Regions from separate parts of the Homo sapiens genome. Here all the other regions are linked to region 2. The links are contacts of gene promoters, found by promoter capture Hi-C in human tissues and cell types (Jung and others, 2019). All regions are on one chromosome and are shown on one strand. Each heading gives the region's core, a stretch centred on a gene start or on the middle of the fragment in contact. The rest is flanking DNA. Distances are from core to core; before and after follow the strand shown.

Region 1 (3,671 bases), core at 182-2,681, 410 kb before region 2:
TCTCTGGGTTTTCTCCAGTCTTCTCCACACTCATGCTGACCCCAAGAGAGCAAGCTGGAGCAGATTTCAAAAGGGAGCTGATTCTCCAGGATCCCCTCACCCTGCACTTCTCAAGCGATAGGAGCTACAGTTAACATGGGTGGCTAAAGCCTTGCAACTGAAACTCCAAACGGAGCTCAGCAACACTCCCAGGGAGGCTGGGAAGAAGGAGATCACACATGGAGCGTAGGCCAGCTTTGACTTAAGGAAAGGGAAGGAGGAACTAGGATCCTGGGCTGACCCATTAACTCACCCTAGGGGGCCACAGAAAGGAACATGCCAAGACATCAGCACCCCTGGAACTTGCAAGAAAATCATCTGCTTCCATCAACACACCACCAGGAGACAAATACTTCAGCACACTTAGTAAACATACGTGAATTCAGACTCCCCTGCTCCTGCATCTGTAAGGTTTCATATGACATGGAAGATGCTTACTCAAGACAATGACTCTTAATGCTTCCAATGGATTCTATCCTAGCCTTTCTTCCTTTCTGTCCTTTCCCTCTGTCTCCTAGACAAGCTTATCCACTTCCAGGGTCTCAACTCCAAACCCTGTGATGATGTTTTCCAAACTGTTCTCAAATCCAGAATGCTGAATTGCCCAGTGCCTGCTGGCGCCCTCCCCATGAAGTGCCCCAAAGCACTGCAAACTCCATACAACTCAAAACTCATTACCCCAACTCTGGCCCTTACAACTTGTCTCCCCTGCTGTACAACTGTGTCTATAAATGGCACTGCCATCCATGCAGATGAAAAATCTTCATCTTCTCCCTCATCAGAAAACCCTACAGAGCCCTCTCATCTCTAATACACCTAATCTAAATGCCTAATCTCTAATATACTGATGTAAAATGTCCTTCCCATCCATCCCCTCCTTGTCACTCCCATAACCTCTGACCTAGTTCAAGCCCTCCTCATCTCCTACCAGAAGTGTTGTAGTGTCAGCCTCCTTATGGGAGATAGAGCCTCCAGAATAATTCTCCTCAAACACTTGTTGAATATCCTAAAAACAAGGGCTCCCATCCCCCCTTCCTGTGTATATGCTGCATACACAGAAAAGTTGAGAACCTCTAATCTTACTGTTCGAACATCCTTGCCTGGCACTTCACTCCCGTAACCTCTCAGCTTACAAGCCACCCCACACTCCATCCACCCTTCTAGACATCCCACATGCTTACCAGCCTCCTTACTACTCCTGAAAACACTGTATTTTCACATCTCTCTGCCTTCAGCTTTCTCTCTCTTCCACTTTGTCCATCCCTGAGGGAAAATTCAGCCTAGTGGTTAAGACTGTGAGCTGTCTTAGCAATCAGACATGGAAGGTTTCTTGGAATCACAGCTCCACCACGCAGTAGCCATTCGACCTTGAGTGTCAGTGTGTGACCTAAACATCTGAGAAGCAACTCACCAGGTTTCCCCCAAAACTGAAATGGGAAATTCCCTCCACAGGTATATCCTTGAAAAAAACACTGTGAGAGGTGTTCACAAATAAATGCATCTTAGCAGAGAACCTTCCTCCCTATTGGCACGTGTCTTCCAAGTTCTAAAGGAGGAACCACTGTTAAGTAGCACAGGGCATCCACAGCGCCAACTGCAAAGCTTTTACCAGAACTAACTTCCAGAGCATGAGGGCTAGGCTCTAGCCATCTCCTGTAGGGAGGCTCAAACATTCAGGCCCAAAGACACCCTGCAAAAATCAAAGCTGGTCAGCCATGGGCTGACTGTGGGAAGATAAGTTCCCCCAGACACTGCCTTAAAAAAAAAAAAAAAAAAAAGGCACAAAAACTAAAACTCTGGCCTTTGTCATACAGTGATTTAAAAAGAAAGTGCGCGCACACACACACACACACACACACACACACACACACAAACCCTTACCTGGTTTAGTGACTTCTAGACACAAAAACTCTGGCTTTTATCACACTGACGGTGATTACTCTTTTGTGAAGAAGATACTGTTTAGTGACATCTGGATCCCCAGACCCAAGTTCAACCACATTTTAAGGGTAACTACATTCAGGTTTACTAGACACTTTTAGGGTATCAGGCTCTTGCACCACATAACTTCATTCACCTTCTCCAAAAGCAGCACTCAGCTCCTACCATACGGCTGCCACAGATTCAGTCACCTTCTCCCTCACCTGGTATCTGAGTTAACTTGTATGTTCATCTACTCTCTCAGCATTTTCCTTTCTTTCCATCTTTGCTACTATAAACGTGCTCTGCACATGAAGTCAGAGAGTTACTATTACATTGGTAGCTAACATTTACCAATTTATCAAGGCCAAGCATGATGCTGAGCATATACACTGATACTACCTTTATTGTGATATAATTCATATTTCATACAGCTCACCCATTTTAAGTGTACAATTCAAGTTTTTACTACATTCACAGAGTTGTGTAAGCATTACCGTAACTAGTTTTAGAACATCTTAATCACCCCAGAAAGAACTCCATACCCATTTGCAGTTACTCCCTATTTTCTCTCAAATCCTCCAGTCTCAGGTAACCACTAATCTGCTTCCTGCTTCTGTAGACTGACCTATTCCGGGCATTTCGTATGATTCATATGATTCCATGTATAAATGGAATCGTACAATATGTGGTCTTTCATGAATCTTCTTTTCATTTAGCACAGTTTTCAAGTGTCATCCATATTGTGGTACATATTAAGACTTCATTCCTTTTTATTGCCAAATAATATTCCATTGTATAGCTATTACCACATTTTATTTACGCAGTCATCAGCTGATAAACATTTGGGTTGTTTCCACTTTCTGATTATTAGAAATAATGCTGCTATAAATATCCATGTACAAGTTTGTTTTGTTTTTTGAGACAGGCTGGAGTGCCGTGGGGAGATCTCTGCTCACTGCAACCTCCACCTCCCAGGCTCAGGTGATCCTCCCACCTCAGCCAGCTGAGTAGCAGGGGCTACAGGTGTGCACTACCACGCTTGGCTAATTTTTTTTTTCTTTTTCTTTTTTTCTTTCTTTTTTTTTTTTTTTTTTTTGTACAGACGAGGTTTCACCATGTTGCCCAGGCTGGATTCTAACTCCTAGACTCACACGATCTGCCCACCTAGGCCTCTCAAAGTGCTGGGAGCCAACACACCTACCCCTAATGTACAAGTGTTTGTATGGACATCTGTTTTCATTTCTTTTGGGTCCTATAATAACTCTATGGTGAGTCTTTTAAAGAACTTCCAGACTGTTTCCAGAGTGGTTATGCCATCTTTATAAACCCACCAGTGACCTGTGAGGGTTCCCATTTCTCTACATCCTCCCTAACACTTGTTATTGTCTGTTTTTTTTTTTTTAATGATAGCCATCCTAAGAGATATAAAGTGATATCGCAGTGTAGTTTTAATTTGCATTTCCCTGCTAGCTAATGGTTTTGAGCATCTTTGGTGTGTTTTTCAACGTATGTCTTTTTTAAGGAAAGGTCCAGTCAGATCCTCTGTCCATTCTTTAACTGGATAGTTATCTTTTTATTAATGGCAAAAGTCCTTTATATATTCTAGATACAAGTTGCTTACTAGATTTATGATTTGAAAATATCTTCTCCTGTTCTCTGGATTGCCTTTTCATTTTCTTGATGATATCCTTTGAAGCAGGAAAGTTTTT
Region 2 (3,802 bases), core at 1,112-3,611:
TTCTCAGTTGCCCCATCTTAAACTGGATGAGACTATGTCAGGAATGCTGCAAGGAAGAAGTTAGAAACATGGTCTAGAAAAGAGCTTCCCAAGCCAGGGTTTCATGATTTGCCACCAACTGTACACTACTCGATGGGTTACCAAAATAACCAATGTGGGGAAACTTTTGTATGTTTTTGCTGCTTCTCGTTTCAATCTAGGGAATAGAAGTCTAGTTCTTCATCAAGTCTGATAATCCTCAGCGCTGAAGATGTTTTTATACTTTAAGATGACTTACAAACATGAAAATTTCACACAGCATCACAGCTTTCAAAAGGTTATTTCTAATTCATGGAGCAATCTATTAAAAACATTTTTTAGGGGGGAAGAGAAGTTGATTAATGGTTACAAATATACCATTTGATATAAGAAGACCTAGTGTTAGATTGGTAAACTAACTATATTTTACAATAACCTCTTGTATATTTCAAAATATCTAGAATTCCAGTGGTCTAGCATAGAGAAAAGACAAATCTTTAACGTGATGGATATCCCAAGTACAGTGATTTTGTCCGAGGCATGTGAACCAGAGCAACTCCATCTTGAATGGGGCCAGGTAAAACAAGGCTGAGTGAGACCTACTGGGCTGCATTCCCAGAAGGTTAAGGCATTCTAACTTACAGGATGAGATAGGATGTGGGCACAAGATACAGGTCATAAAGACCTTGCTGATAAAACAGGTCGCAGTAAAGAAGTCGGCTAAAACCCACCAAAACCAAAATGGCGACAAGAGTGACCTCTGGTCGTCCTCACTGATACACTCCCAGCAGCGCCAGGACAGTTTACACATGCCACGGCAACGTCCGGAAGTTACCCTATATGGTCTAAAAAGAGGAGACATGAATAATCCACCCCTTGTTTAGCATACCATCAAGAAATAACCATAAAAATGGGCAACCAGCAGCCCCAGGCTGCTCTGTCTATGGAGTGGCCATTCTTTTATTCCTCTACTTTCTTAATAAACTTGCTTTCACTTTACTGTGTGGACTCACCCTGAATTCTTTCTTGCGTGAGATCCAAGAACCCTCTCTTGGGGTCTGGACTGGGACCCCTTTCCTGTGCAATTTGATCTTTACAAATTATATGAATGTATTACATTATCACATGTGCCCCAGAACTATGTACATCATGCATCAACTAAAAAATGTTTAAAACAAAAATGTTTAACTCAGCAACTTCTATCTACACACCAGTCACCACAGTGCTTCTTGAGAACTGCCACCTCGTTTTCAAACCAAAAACCAGGACGCAAAATCTGTGCATGGGAAAAAAAAATATTTTACATGCAAACTACCCTGAAAAAAAAAAAAAAAAAAAAGAATAAGGTCGCCTCAATTCACTCTGGTGGGGAAAAAACAAAGGTTTTTACGAAAGCCCTGAATGCCTGAGTTCACAGCAGGCCCATGACGAAGTTTGTGTCTCACGCAGGTTTTCTCCTTTGGTGGGAGTTTATTGTGTATTACACCGAGGGCACGCTAGGTTTGCCAGTTTTTCGCTCATTCATTCAACAAACACTCGATGTCCACCTACTCCATTAACAGAGCCCTTCTCAGCCCTCGGGATGGACAAAAGATCCCGAAGAGGCCAAAGCCACGACGCCGCTGCCAGAGGACGTCAGCAGGTCCAGGAAACGACCTGATTTTAAGGACCAATGAAGGCAACGAGTAAGAGCGACGGCGCCCAGGAAAGCTGCAGCGGAAACTTGGGAAATGCCAGCCTTCGGGCGCAGAGGGCGGGGCAGGGCCTACTGGATCGCACTGTCTGCGGGCTGGGGCCCCGCCTGGGCTCCGGTCCCGCCGCCTCCGGCCGCCAAGCGGCGCCCGCCCACGGCCCGGCGGGGGCGTTGGCCTGGTCCCCGGCCCAGGAGGGCAGCGCCCGGGCGACCGCGAGCGGGCGGGGTGGCCTCGATGGCCCGCGAGCCCCGGGCTCAGTGTGGGGTGCGCGTCGCTCCTGCCCGACGTACCCGGGAAGCGCGCGCACGCATCGCCGCGCGCCCCACCGCGCCGGGCACCCGCGGCGCGCTCCCGCCCGGTCCCAGTGCCCCGGCCCCTCGGCCCCTACGGCACCCCCGGCTCCTACCGCCCGCCCGGCCGGCCTGGCCGCACTCACCCTCCTTGGCTTTCTTCCTCCGGGCCAGGGTCCCTCCGAGTTTCCCCAAGAAGGAATCATCTTTCTTGCGGGACGGGGGCGACTTGGGAGTGGGAGACTTGGGGACAGAAGGCGACTTCTGCGGGGAGGTGGCCATGGCGCGGCGCAGGCTGCCGCGGGCCGGTCGGGACGCGGAGCTGGCGCTGGGCGGACGCAGCGGGCGGCGGCGGGACTGAGGCTGCGGCTTTCCAAACGGAAGCGGAATTATTCCAAGCATTTGAGGCAGCTCACGCTCGCCTTTCCCTTCCCTCGCTCCCTCCCTCGCTCCCTCCCTCGCGCCGCCCTCTGCCCTGGAAGGAGCTGCGCTCCCGGGGCCGCGCCTTGCGCCCCTGGGTTGCCCCAAGCAGGGAGGATGCCCCAAAACTGCCCCTTGCAGGACAGGAGGACGTGTGTGCCCAGGTTGGGAGCGGTCGAGCCGGAAAGCTTCATTTACCCAGGCTCTGTCCCCACCACACAGCCTGGCGCAAAACACATCTGAGAACCAACCCAACCCTGCTACTCTCCCGGGGTCTTCCAGCCGGCGGCTGGTGAGCTCGCTCTGCCCCAGCACTACTGCCTGTGGGGTTATCAGGCCCACGTCTTGCGCCCACAAGACTGCAGCTCCTGGAAGAAATTATTGCAGTGAACCAAAATGTGTCCAGGCCCCACCAAAGTGGGCAGAACCAATCACTCCTGAACCTATCCATGACCGTCAACCTCCTCGTCTCTACTCCCATCCAAGACTGAGAAGCTTGGAGTGCACAAGGGTAAAGCCGAGGCTTCTTATTCTTGTAAGACATCCGTGTTTCCAGCAGCTTATACAAAGGAAGATCCCACGTGGTGGTGGAAACATGAATGGGAAAAGCACAACCATGAGCTCCTACAGGACTTCCCGCAAAATTTATCCTGCCTAAATAAAAGCAAGAGAGTGACAACCAGACTCATTTGAGATAACAGGGGAGTCATACAAAGCACAGTGTTTGAAGGACTCATACTGGAAATGATTAAAAGGCACGTGTTATTGAGCTTACCCATCTCAAGTTCTCACTCTGGCTCTTTGTCCTTCTGTCTGTCTCTCACACACAGACTCACAGCACCTTGGCAACTGTGTTTCCTCCTTGTGGCCCCTTCTAGGCCACAGCTGATTGAACCTGGGTGAACACCTAATCCAAAGGGCGCTACTGCTTTACTGAAGAGCAGACGATCAGCTGGCCCCAGTTAAGACTGCACTAAGCTGGAGAGACTGTTGTCAGAAGTTGTGCTCGTGACTGATGATCATTCGCAATCAAAACTAGGGTGGCTGTTTCTAGCCACGTGCATGCTGAGGAGTAGGGAAACCAAAGAATGGAGCAAAGAAGTGTGCTCAAGAAGCCACGTGGTCTGAGTAATGGAAACCGTGGGGAGTAGCTGCTTGGACCTTGAATCTTTTCCCAGACCCCACTTGCACTTCCTGCCAGGGCCAGCTGTGCTTCTTCCCAGGAGATGTTACTCAGCCTTTTATTAACCCATCCACAGTTCCTTAAACTAAATAAAGTGACAAGCAACAGTTTCTGAGTAGAACTAAAATTTAACAAAAAGATAGTCAACAGATTCTCAACACCGTATAGGTTCATTTTATCTTAAGAGTCTTAATTTT
Region 3 (3,979 bases), core at 1,096-3,595, 490 kb before region 2:
AAGATTATATCATTTCCCAAATCCCGTGACAAGGCCAAGTGTCTTGGTGTGGACACAGACAAAGGAGGTTGTTGCTCAGGCTTTCCTTGCCTCCTGCACTGCTAACAGCCAAGTCCTGAAGGAGCAGAGTGGCTCAGGGGGCTTCACGGAGCAACACAGAGTGAAGTGAAGTACGTCTACCTTCCCTGTGGACAGGCCCATTCCTGGATGGAATCAGTGATGATACAAACATGATTCAGCAGTGTGGACTTTAGCAATGCCCCAGTGAAGTTCTTGAACTCAAAAGAATTAAATCAACAATTTGAACTTTAAGCTCTCTGCCTATTGGAAGGAACAGCAGTTTGGAAAGAATGGCCTGTTCAGAAATCAAATCATAAAGGCCACCAGGGCGAGAACAAGAAAATGGCCCCGGGGGAGCACATGTAGCTCATAAATTAGTCACCGGCGACTGGACATAATCAGAGGGGCTCAGGTCTCTTTCTGCTCTACTGGGATGATGCAATGTCAGCAAGTACAGGTTTTTCTTCAATACACATCCAGAGCCTGACGTGAATACATCTACTGCCTAAGATGTATTCCTGCCGAGCGGAGGGCACGGCGAAGACTTCCTTTCCTCTTAGTTTTGTCCCGAGTCATACACTCACCTAAACACACTCGAGAAGTGAACCAGAGGTGGCTTGGCCCATCTTCATGGGAAGATGGAGATGGCCCACAGTGTGGTGGTGCTTCCCAGACCTTGGCTGTGGCTACCGTGAGCTTCTGAAAACAGCAAGAAAGGACTGCCTTTTTGCTGCTAATGGGGAAAGAAGGACTCTGAGCAGGGTCTGAACAACTTCTTAGGGCAACTGAACATACAGGCAAAGAGACTCCTGCATGGAACTCTACAAAGAAACTCTGAGTAGGAAAAAGACTGCTTAACACATGGAGAATGCTTCTGCATTCTTTCTACATGCTGGGATAATAAATCCCTGGAGCTTAAAAAAACAGTTAATGACTTTTTCATGAATTAATGGTAAGTGAAACAATTCGAAGTAGAGAATAATTTCTAAGGCTGTGAGCTAATCCTCAGACATGCTGCTGCTTCTCACTACTCCACTGGAGACGCCAATAGGGGCTAAACTAAGGGAAAGGGTGAGATGGAAGACAACAGGTAAAGCTGGTGTTGGTGACACTGCTGTCGCTGCAGCTGGTGACACAAGGTCCAAGGGAGACCTCTAACTCAGCATCCTCAGGATTTTTAAATGGATATTCCATAGGCCTAGAAGCCTCTTTCACACTGCAACTGCATGGATTCATCTTCTACTTTAGAAGTAGACTCAGGCCCAGCTACAGGCTGTGGGTCATCTATAAAACCTACCCCCTTGAGAGCAGTGGGTCAAAAGGGTTTTGTCTGAGTAGGAGACAAACACATAGCACTCCCATCACTAAGAAACAACTCCTTCAAAGCTAAGCTCTCTTCTAGGCCTGCAGTTTGTACTCTAGCTTCTGTCCTAGACATTTTTTCTTTTTCTTTTTTTTGGAGACAGAGTCTCGCTCTGTTGCCCAGGCTGGGGTACAGCAGTACAATCTCGGCTCACTGCAACCTCCACCTCCCAAGTTCAAGCAACCCTCCTGCCCCAGCCTCCCAAGTAGCTATAACTGCCGGTGCACACTGCCATACCTGGCTAATTTTTTGTATTTTAGTAGAGACGGGGTTTCACCGTGTTGCCCAGGCTGGTCTCTAACTCCTGAGCTCAGGCAATCTGCCCATCTCGGCCTCCCGAAGTGCTAGGATTACAGGCGTGAGCCACCGTGCCCAGCCTTGTCCTAGATATTTTGAAAATGCCCCAACCCCGGGGGGGGCGGGGGAGAAAATCCCCACAACTCTGAATGTATAAATTTAATTTCCAAAATCACTGTGCTCTGGCCACAAATGCCTTTTTTTTTTTCTTTTTTCCATCTTACCGAGCTCTTGAATCTCAGCTTCAGTCTACTGACGCTTTGTCTCTACTCTCCCAGCTTCTCTGCTCCTGGTTCACTGTCTCCTCGCATTATTCCCTTTCTAGTTCAACCATCCCCTATATGTCCTGAACCTCGTATCTCTCCTCTGCAGTCAGGGTCTGTATCCAAGGTCACCAAATTGTTGGCCGAGTCTATCTTAAGCTGCTAAAAATTCCAGAGGAAAAGTCTCATGTTGGTGCCAATGGCTATTGCACAAATTCATGGTAGATAATTGGGCAAAAATCGGCTGGGCGCAGTGGCTCATGTCTGTAATCCCAGCACTTTGGGAGGCTGAGGCAGGCGCATCACTTGAGGTCAGGAGTTCGAGACCAGCCTGGCCAACATGGTGAAACCCCGTCTCTATTAAAAATACAAAAATTAGCTGAGTGTCGTGATGAGCGCCTGTAATCCCAGCTACTTGGGAGGCTGAGGCAGGAGAATCGCTTGAACCCGGGAGGCGGAGGTTGCAATGAGCCGAGATGGCGCCACTGCACTCCCGCCCGGGCGACAAAGCAAGACTCTGTCTCAAAAAAAAAAGAAAAAGAAAAAGACAATGGGCAAAAATCTAGGAGCAAAATGAGAAGAGAGAGCTTTCACTGGATTTGATTTTCTAAGGGAAGTAAGTGGCAAGAAAATACATTGTGGGTGGTAGGAAAGAAAGGAAGATTAATTTTGGTTGAAGACGGAGGGTGGGTAGAGGAAAAAGTACAGAATAATGTTTGCCACTTGATTTTTCATTAAAAAAAACTTATATAATGAAAATGATCAATTCCAGATAGTATAAACATGAGTGTTTAATATATTTTCTGTACTGTTTAAATTTTGCAACAAAAACTTCATAATTTTGATGCACACTCCTAGTCAATTACCATTACTTTAAGAGAACCCAATTTTAATAAGTTGATTTTTAAATGCTGCTATTGAAAATCTTTCTGAAAAGTTCTGGCACACAACACTTTTCAGACTTCATAAGGACAGAACTTATAATTTATTCTTTAAACACAATGAGTAGGAAAGACTACAGAGCAGGCAGAGAGCACCAAAGCAGGGAGCCAGCCAAGGATGAGTGCTAAGTGCCACGGAGCAGCCCCAGGGGGTGTGGGTTGGCCCCTGGTCCCAGCCTGTGACTCTCTTCCCCACTCTTAAAGCAGCCCAGGAATTAGCCTCCCTGACTCCAGCTTGGCCTCCCTCTTATTAGCTATCCTGCAAAACCTGGCTGGCGAGGTCTTTCCAGAGGGTAAATTTGAATGAACCCCATGTATGCCCCTAGGCCCACAGATGAATCCCTTCTCCTCAGTGGGATAATCGAGGGCCCTTCCCTTAGGCTCCTCCAGTCTTACCTCCCACCGCATGTCCCCAATTACATGATGCTCTTCATGGTCCCCCAGATAGTCCCAACTTTATGGAAATTCTCTGCCTTCAACTATGTTTAGTTCTAATGACACTTCTCCATGAAGCTTTAATTCCCTCACTCCCAGAATGAATCATTCTTTTCACTTGGGCAGCCTCTGCACTATCCTGTTTAATTTCTACTGCAGAGCCCCCTAGCTGTGGATATCTACTGGAAAAATAACAGAAAAGTTCAATGTTCCTCAAGAACAGAAACTCTGGATTCAATTCTATGTGCCCAACGTCTACAAAAGGACCTAGAACACACTTAGGTTCTCAATGAAAACCACTGGACTGAATTCAGTAATCATTCCTATGCTTTTCAAGTTCAAATCTACGTAGAAATCTTAGACTTTCACTAGAACAATTTTTTTCTTTACTAAAATTTAAGTCTACACAATTTGGGGGTGATCTAGTCCACAAACAAGCACATTGAGAACAACTGCCAATTAGTAGAAGCATAAAGCTGACCTTTAGAATTTATTCTAACGGATTTTCAGGAGAGTAACTTTTGTAGCTAGGATGACTCATCTATCAATGTGACATCAAATGACCACTCTCTCCTGGAGTCTGTTTTCTTCCTAGGAACATGGCAGAACTTCAAAACTAC
Region 4 (3,710 bases), core at 165-2,664, 460 kb before region 2:
TTTTAAAAGTTAGAAAAGGCTTTGATGCTTATAACTCTCTTAAAGTTAGTGTCAGAAGGTTTTCAATATATTTACTTAGTTCATTTTTGTATTCCTTCTTCCTTCATTTGAAATCCATGTAATTCTTAAAGGCAGCATAATAAAAAAAAATTCACTTATTGGACAAGGCAGGCAGGCATAAACACGATTTAAGCATGAAAAAAAGGAAACGGCCTTCAGACATGCTTGCCAGATAAAAATCAGTGGTTCTGAACCTGCATACAAGCAATTTTCTGGAGCTCATGAAGACCCAGGAGAGAATGCTTGAGAAACGACAGAGAAATCTCTTAAAAGTCACCCTGCATTTCTCTAGAATGAATTTACAGGACAGGCTAAGAGTATCTCCGGAAGTTCACCAAGCCTCCATTAATAAATGAGGCAGCAGTGTGGTTTCCGTGGCAACAGACTCCTAACTCCCGCAAGCTTAGTGCACAACTGCCAAAGATTTCTCCTCAAATCTCAACTTCCTGTTTCCAGGTACTGACAAAACCAAACATACTTTTAAGCCCAGGGAAACAGCAACAGTGTAAGGGTTTTCAATAGGTATTCTCGTAACGGTGGTTTGGTCAAAAGTGAGGTGGACTAGGCAGCTCCATCTTGCTGCAGAGATTTGGAGAACACTTTTAAAGGGAGCTAAGAGCCCCCTGAGAACGTTCAGTGAGTTAAATACATTTGCTGTAATATTATAATGTGTTATGACAAGCTATATATCATTATAATAGGTTCCCATGATTCACATTTGCCTGTTTTGTTTTGTTTTGTTTTGTTTTTTTCCTCTGCTCTGTGGAAATGATTTGGGGGTTTGGGTAAGCTTGATTCAGAATTCGGCACATGAGGAAAGCCGACTACATTTCTTTAACATATGTAACCTTGAGGTTTATAGGAGAGGTCACGATACATTTTAAAAGAGACCTTCCCAGACTATTTCATATGAACGGGTAAGTGTGGAAAAGTACAGACGCTAGGAGTCTGCCATTAGCAGTCACTGACTCTAGGTAAAGTTATCAGCCTTTGTGAGCCTCAGTTTCCCCAAAGGTCTCATACCCTATAATGCTATGATACCACGATAAGCCCTAGCTACTTTTACATTCCTTCCAAACACATGCAGAGAACACCAGAAAGCACTAGTGTGCTTCGATTCTCCATCTCCCATTTCCCTCTAAACACTGAAGGAGCTAAGCTACCAGGGTGCAAACTGAAGGAAGATGGCATATCTCCCAAAAAATGCAAGTAGCTGAAAGAAGGGCAGCTACCATGACAGCAGCCTGGAGGGGGAATGTGGAGGGATTCTCAGAAAAGCCAGAGAGAATTCTAAACCAACCCCTCCAAGAACAGCATGAAACCGACATTCCCCATTGAGTTTCCCTTGGAGAAAAATAATCGAGAAAAACTGTACTTATTCTTTATGCTAAGGCAGCGAACACACTTCCTAACCAGCATCCATCCCCACCATCTCAGGAGCTGCACTCACAGCAGACAGAGACTCTCTTAAGCCAGTAGCTTGCTAAGCACCGATTATAGGCATGGCCTGGTGGGGACAGCTAAGAAGACCAAAGGAGGGAAAAAAGACAGCTCTTCTGTACCCACTGAGCTTACATTCTATCCATGGTGTATAAGAGACGCAGGTAGGAAAAGAGGCAGAGCCACAGAGGCTACATATTTTTCAGGATTTCCCTTTTAAATTCTGTTCCTTTTCCCCTTTCACCTATGAATAAATCTGGGTCTGTGTCCCTCTCTGCATCCATAAAATAATGTAACTTCCCACATGACTCACACATGCACTGCCCTTAGCGTATTTTCATGTTAAAAGGCTTTAGCAGACAGTAACAAATTCCTGACAGCTACAACTGATAACTTGAGATGAGAAAAAGTATTCCATTTCAATTTTCAGACAGGTCTGGCTTGGGAACAAACCAGCTGAAGGACAGGGAGGGCAAATTTCCAGTACAACTCTCCCTATAAAAGCAATAAAGTTACTACCAATGGAGAGCAATCAAATATCCACCAGAACTCTGAAAGCCACTGGGTATCTCATCCCACTCCACTCACAGGGGCCCGTGCAGAAAGCCACCATTTGCATATAAACTTCCCTATGAAGTCTATGCCTTAGTTTTTCTACCTCAGAGAAAAATGAGAGGCTTCTGATAGGAATGGGGCCCCTTCAGCCTCGAGAGAAGATCTGCAGAGTTGGGAATATCTATTAACATAGACGGCACTTCCAAACTGCAGGAAGAGCACACAGCCGAACCCCAGACCTAGGCCCCCAGGCTAAGACACGGCCATTTATTTCGTGAAAGTGAAAATGAGTAAAAGTTAAGTGAAAGACTATTACGCAGAAACGATCAACCCCAGTACATGAATTTGGACTGACCTCTTTACAATTTAATTATAGGAGGTTATATTTACCAGCACAACACTGAATATGGCCTCTTAACTCTCACAAGCTTCTCATGGCTTCTTCTGACTCCCCATCCTTACACAACCATTCCATAGTGAAAACATCCATCTCTCAGACTCATCCACCTTCCACCCTTCTTGCCTTGGCCCGATTTCGTTTCTGGTCTTTTTTTTTTCTTTTTTTTTTTTTTTTGAGGCAGAGTCTCGCTCTGTCGCCCAGGCTGGAGTGCAGTGGCGCGATCCAGGCTCACTGCAAGCTCCGCCTCCCGGGTTCACGCCATTCTTCTGCCTCAGCCTCCCAAGTAGCTGGGACTACAGGCGCCCGCCACCACACCTGGCTAATTTTTTGTATTTTTAGTAGAGACGGGATTTCACCATGTTAGCCAGGATGGTCTTGATCTCCTGACCTCATGATTCACCCGCCTCGGCCTCCCAAAGTGCTTGGATTACAGGCGTGAACCACCGCGCCAGGCCCGTTTCTGGTCTCTTAAAGCTGCCTCCGAACTGTTTTCCTTACTTTCCATCTGTTCCCACTCTCACCCTTCCTTAAGGCTACAACCAGAAGGATCTTTCTTAGATTAATGAGTCTTACCACATTACCTTCAATGTGGGCTTTCTATCATATAGTCCCCTACTACACCTAGAATGCCAACTCTTGTTGCTGCCTGCAAATTTCTATTCATCTTTTAATATCCAACTGAAACAAACCCTTCCATTACGCGAAGTTAGTGATTCCCTGGTCGTGCTCCTTACGTTCTGAACCTGCTCTGATAACCCCCGCCACATTCTGGCATCACTTCTTTCCCAACCAACATCTCTACTACTCCCTAAAGTACTACTACACGGCAGGAGCTTTATCCTGTAATTTCTGTTACCTCAGTCCCCAGGACACAGCCTAGCACCTGGGACATAATAACTGTTAACTGAATGGACAGGCCAGAAACATGTGGACAGAGTGGATGCAGTATTTCTTTCTGAAGCTCGTGATCTTCAAAAAGAGCTTTGTTTTTTGTTTGTTTGTTTTGTTTTGAGACAGAATCTCACTCTGTCACCGAGGCTGGAGTACAGTGTCACGCTCTTGACTCACTGCAGCCTCCACTTCCCAGGTTCAAGCAATTCTCCTGTCTCAGCCTCCCGAGCAGCTGGGACTACAGGCGTGCATTACCACACCCGGCTAATTTTTGTATTTTTAGTAGAGACGGTGTTTCACTATGTTAGCCAGGCTGGTCTCAAACTCCTGACCTCAGGTGATCCACTGGCCTCTGCCTCCCAAA
Region 5 (4,005 bases), core at 26-2,525, 330 kb before region 2:
ACATCCAGGGCCATTCTGCTTCTAGGGAATTTAGGGTTTTAGCCAATTTGCTTAGAAAATGGTTGTGCAAATTTACACTACCCCATGAGCCTGTGTTTTATAAAAAGAGGTGAGGGGGATCTCCAACTATAGCAGGGAAGAATTTTAATAAAAAGCAGAACTCAAGAGCACAGGCAATAGATGGCTGCTCCTGCAGGTCAATTCATGCTGGGCACCACTCACCAAGCTTTCCAAGGGATGCAATAACTGAATTCCAGTGGCCCCAAATTCACTCATTCCAATGGATATATCCTGAGGGTCTATTATAAACAAAGCACTGAGAATATAAAGATGTGCAAGTCACAGCCTGTATCCCGCAAGGGCTCAGAGTTTAGGAGGAAGAAGAACAACAACGAAGGATGATGGTGAAAGTGGCTGTAAGACACTTATGGGCTAAAGAAAGCAAAGATCCCTCCAGGTAAAGGAGGGAGGAACTCCAAGACAACTTCCTAAAGGAGGTGCTTTAAGAAAATATAGGGAGGCTTGGGCAGGCAAAACAAATGGAAAAGGTCATCCCCATTTCTGAGCACTTGCTATGTGTCACTCATATCTCACAACCAACCAGTGTTATGATAATATCTCCACGTACCGAGCAGGGGAGTCCAGCTAGGGGAGGTGGATTGACTCATCCTATGTTACATGTATTGTCAGTGGCAGAGCCAAAAACCAAAGCCCCCATCCTCTGCTAAGGGAAGCTTTTTTGGGAGAGAGAATGTTATGAGTAGGGCAGCACATTTAGGAAGTGACAAAGATTCCATCTGTGGGATGCTATGCTCCACTGATACTGAGACCACACTGTGGGAGGTCTCAAGCACCAGGCTAAGGGGAATGCGCTCATTGGTTGGGTGATGAAGCAGGTAGGGAGGAGGCTTTGAGAATGGGAGCCCCAGGATAAGATGTAGTGGCTCAGAACAAGTAACCTGGAGCCGGCAGGCCTGGGCTTGAATCCCAGCTGTGGCTCCTAAGAACTGTGCAGTTTTGGACAAGGTACTTAACTTCTCTGTGCCTCCAGTTCCTCATTAAATGAGGCTGATATTACTACCTCCTTCACAGAATTATTGTGAAAATTAAATGAATCACAAAGCAATAAGAACAGTGCCAGTTCACAAGAATGGCTATGTAAGTGCATTATCGGATAATGATGGTGATGATGATGCAGCAAATTAATTAACCTGCTGAGACACAATGGCATTGGAAGATTACCTGAGAGGCTGCCAGAGTAATCCGGGCGAGAGAAGGACGGAAGTAGCTTCCAGGGAATGGGAAGGAAGTAACTGATTTGGGAGAACATGGAAGGGAAAGGGAAATGTTTCACGGAAGCCTGCAGCCTGAAGAAAGGCAGTGCTGCTGGAGGAGCCGCTCAGCCACAAAAGCACTCAGTGAAGACAGAAATGCACACCCAGGTGCATTTCTCTGAGCCTCAATTCTTCTATCTCTAAAATGGGGCTAACGATTCTTATCCTTCTACTCTCGGCATTGTCCTGAGGCTCAAATAAGACCATGAACTTGGCTACGGTACATTTAAGACATAAAGCATTCTACAGATGGAAGTCATGAAGCTATAAAGAGGGAGTGGTGTCGAGGGACTGGTCTGGACAGTGAGCCAGAGAGACAAACTCCACTTAACGTTGTCCACGATGTTCTCAGATAGTAACACGCAGGGTCAATTTCCAACATTCTTACCCTGCACCGCTGTGGCCTGATACCAGCCTAGGACCACTGACACCTGAGCCTGCCATGGCACCAAGGGTTGAATGCAGAGAGGATCTGGTTCAAGGGGCGGCCCCTGAGTGCTGAGAGGGAAACTGACCATTTCTGGGCACACCATGGATAAAGGGAGTACACAGAAAAGTAACATCAGTTGGCTCTATCTCCTTCAGCTCTCCATTTACACAGTCTGTGAGCAGATCAAAGGGCCCTGGAGCCAGCCAGAGAGGGCTGGGGATGAGACAAGCAGCCTGCGAGTGCTGTGGCAGGCAGCTCTGCATCAGTTTGCCTTCGGCTATAACCAAATGACATTTCCTGCATAATCCTGCCACTCTTTGGATAGAATTTCTTATAGAAAGTCATCTTTTTTATGCCCAGTGTAGTCCAGGAGATCATAATGACCAGCAGCTTCTATTCCCTATATAATTTTTATTTATTTTAGCTTCAAAAGGAACTCAGGACTCCCAGCTCTAAGTCTCTTAAAGTCTCTTATCTGGTGAGCCCCACACCTCCCGTACATCACTCACCATTTTAGACTGGAATGGTCCCCTTAACACAACTCCCTTTTCCCACTAGCCTGCAGTTTTTCTTCTCTGAATCCCCACCACCCAACACAGACACTCGCAAACAATGAACTGAAATTTCATAGCATCTTTTGGAAACTAAAGACAGTGAAAACCCACCGGCATGACCCTTCCGATTACTCAACTTTCCCCTTCACTCAGGTAAGACTTCAAGATAACAGCATCTCCTTTAATTAAGCCTACCCTGCTTGGTTTTCCAAAACTCCAATTTCCAAGATCAAAAGAAAGGCAAAATTTAGGCTTGACGTCTAAGTTTTTGTTTTGTTGTTTGCTACAGGTTCTGGAAAAGTAAAAGCCCTAATCACCCCCAACATATAGTGACTAAAATTTAAGACACTCCAGAATAGTGCCTTTTCCCTTCAACCAACTTTTTTGGCTGACTTTCAATAGTTTTAAAGCTGATAACCAGAGGAAGCCTTTATTTAAAGAAAGAAAAAAAAAATCTAAGTAAACAGTTCCCAGTGTTCTCTAAGAAATTAGACTCTAAGAACACAATCTGTCCACACAAGGATAAATGCAGTTTTATTAAAGAAAACACAACGGTCTTACAAACACTCTCCAAATATTGTACACTGTACACATGAAGAATCAAACACAAAATTCAAAGGGGTCCCAGAGGGGGTCTGCTATGGCTTTGCTCAAAATCTAAACTCTAAAGCATGACTGTGCTAGAGCAGAGGAGACTCTGTGCTTTGTCTTTCCCAAAATAATCTCTCTCACCGACCATCACAGCGAGCTAAGGGGAGGACCACAAAATCTGCAGTGGAGCGACTGTGATCGTTCTCAAAACAATTTTTATTGAAGAAGCAGTCGACTGAACTACTTATAATCTACAAAATCAAGTCACTTGGCACCAGATGCATTAAAGGCCTCAAATATTAGGGGAGTTTCATTTTACACCAAATATAAAACTGAAATAAATTAGGAAGCAAAAGCAACAGTATTATAAATAACTGACCAACTCCATTCAAATATCCCACACTTCTCATACCACGGTGAGGGAAAATAAATGAGAGTTAAGAAGCATAATTTCTAGAAATCCTCCTATCATAGAAAAAAAAGTTTCTAAGATCAATGTGGCTTTTAAAAGGGTAGCAGAAACTAAAATATACGCAAAACTCGTTTCCACTGCACCCCACAGGTATAACATCATTTTTTAATTTATAATTTTAGAATGTACTGTATGTTTATGATTTGGTTTCTCTTATTATTTAAACCTTGAGTACCTGGTGAAGAGTTATAAAAATGAATGAAGAGTCTATTCCTGTCCATAAAGTGCACACAGGTTGGGTATTTGTACCTAAAACAAAAGGGTTTAAATGGATGATGCTAATTTATCTAAGGGATCTCTAGTTATGGAAGAAAAAGTCCAAAGTTGTTAAGAGTTATAAAAATGAATGAAGATTCCATTCCTGTCCATAAGTAGCACACAGGTTGGGTATTTGTGCCTAAAACAAAAGGGCTTAAATGGGTGATGCTAATTTATCTAAGGGATCTCTAATTATAGAAAAAAAGGTACAAAGTTCTTTGCAGAAATATTTTATTTTTCCTAATTAAAAGAAAAATTAATACCAGAATGACCTAAAAGGGAGATGCTGTTGAATCAAAGTTGTGGGATTTGATTCACAGCATTATTTCCCAAATAATGTGTGGGTTGACAACGCCTGTGCTGGGT

The links. The method cuts DNA at HindIII sites, captures the fragments that hold promoters and counts their contacts. A contact is called where the count stands out against the background at its distance.
Region 1: a contact is called between a fragment that was not itself captured here and the fragment with the promoter of PARVA in region 2, in 1 of the 25 tissues and cell types used here (dorsolateral prefrontal cortex).
Region 3: a fragment that was not itself captured here is called in contact with the fragment with the promoter of PARVA in region 2 in 1 of the 25 tissues and cell types used here (dorsolateral prefrontal cortex).
Region 4: a fragment that was not itself captured here is called in contact with the fragment with the promoter of PARVA in region 2 in 2 of the 25 tissues and cell types used here (dorsolateral prefrontal cortex and mesenchymal stem cells).
Region 5: a fragment that was not itself captured here is called in contact with the fragment with the promoter of PARVA in region 2 in 1 of the 25 tissues and cell types used here (liver).

What each region holds. Positions count from the first base shown.
Region 1 is chr11:12,781,339-12,785,009 of GRCh38, reverse strand. All of the region lies in intron 3 of TEAD1 (TEA domain transcription factor 1), which reads right to left. Among named protein-coding and RNA genes, the nearest start is that of TEAD1, 110 kb to the right of the region's middle. The HindIII fragment of the contact is 4,708 bases long and covers 1-3,671 here.
Region 2 is chr11:12,376,130-12,379,931 of GRCh38, reverse strand. It overlaps PARVA (parvin alpha), which reads right to left and starts at 2,361. Exons shown (of 13, transcript NM_018222.5): 1 at 2,149-2,361. The coding sequence starts at 2,284. The HindIII fragment of the contact is 6,514 bases long and covers 1-3,802 here.
Region 3 is chr11:12,868,426-12,872,404 of GRCh38, reverse strand. The region is part of intron 5 of TEAD1 (TEA domain transcription factor 1); the gene reads right to left. Among named protein-coding and RNA genes, the nearest start is that of TEAD1-AS1, 53 kb to the left of the region's middle. The HindIII fragment of the contact is 7,003 bases long and covers 1-3,979 here.
Region 4 is chr11:12,839,166-12,842,875 of GRCh38, reverse strand. The region is part of intron 3 of TEAD1 (TEA domain transcription factor 1); the gene reads right to left. Among named protein-coding and RNA genes, the nearest start is that of TEAD1-AS1, 82 kb to the left of the region's middle. The HindIII fragment of the contact is 3,640 bases long and covers 1-3,234 here.
Region 5 is chr11:12,699,986-12,703,990 of GRCh38, reverse strand. The region is part of intron 2 of TEAD1 (TEA domain transcription factor 1); the gene reads right to left. Among named protein-coding and RNA genes, the nearest start is that of TEAD1, 28 kb to the right of the region's middle. The HindIII fragment of the contact is 3,590 bases long and covers 1-3,070 here.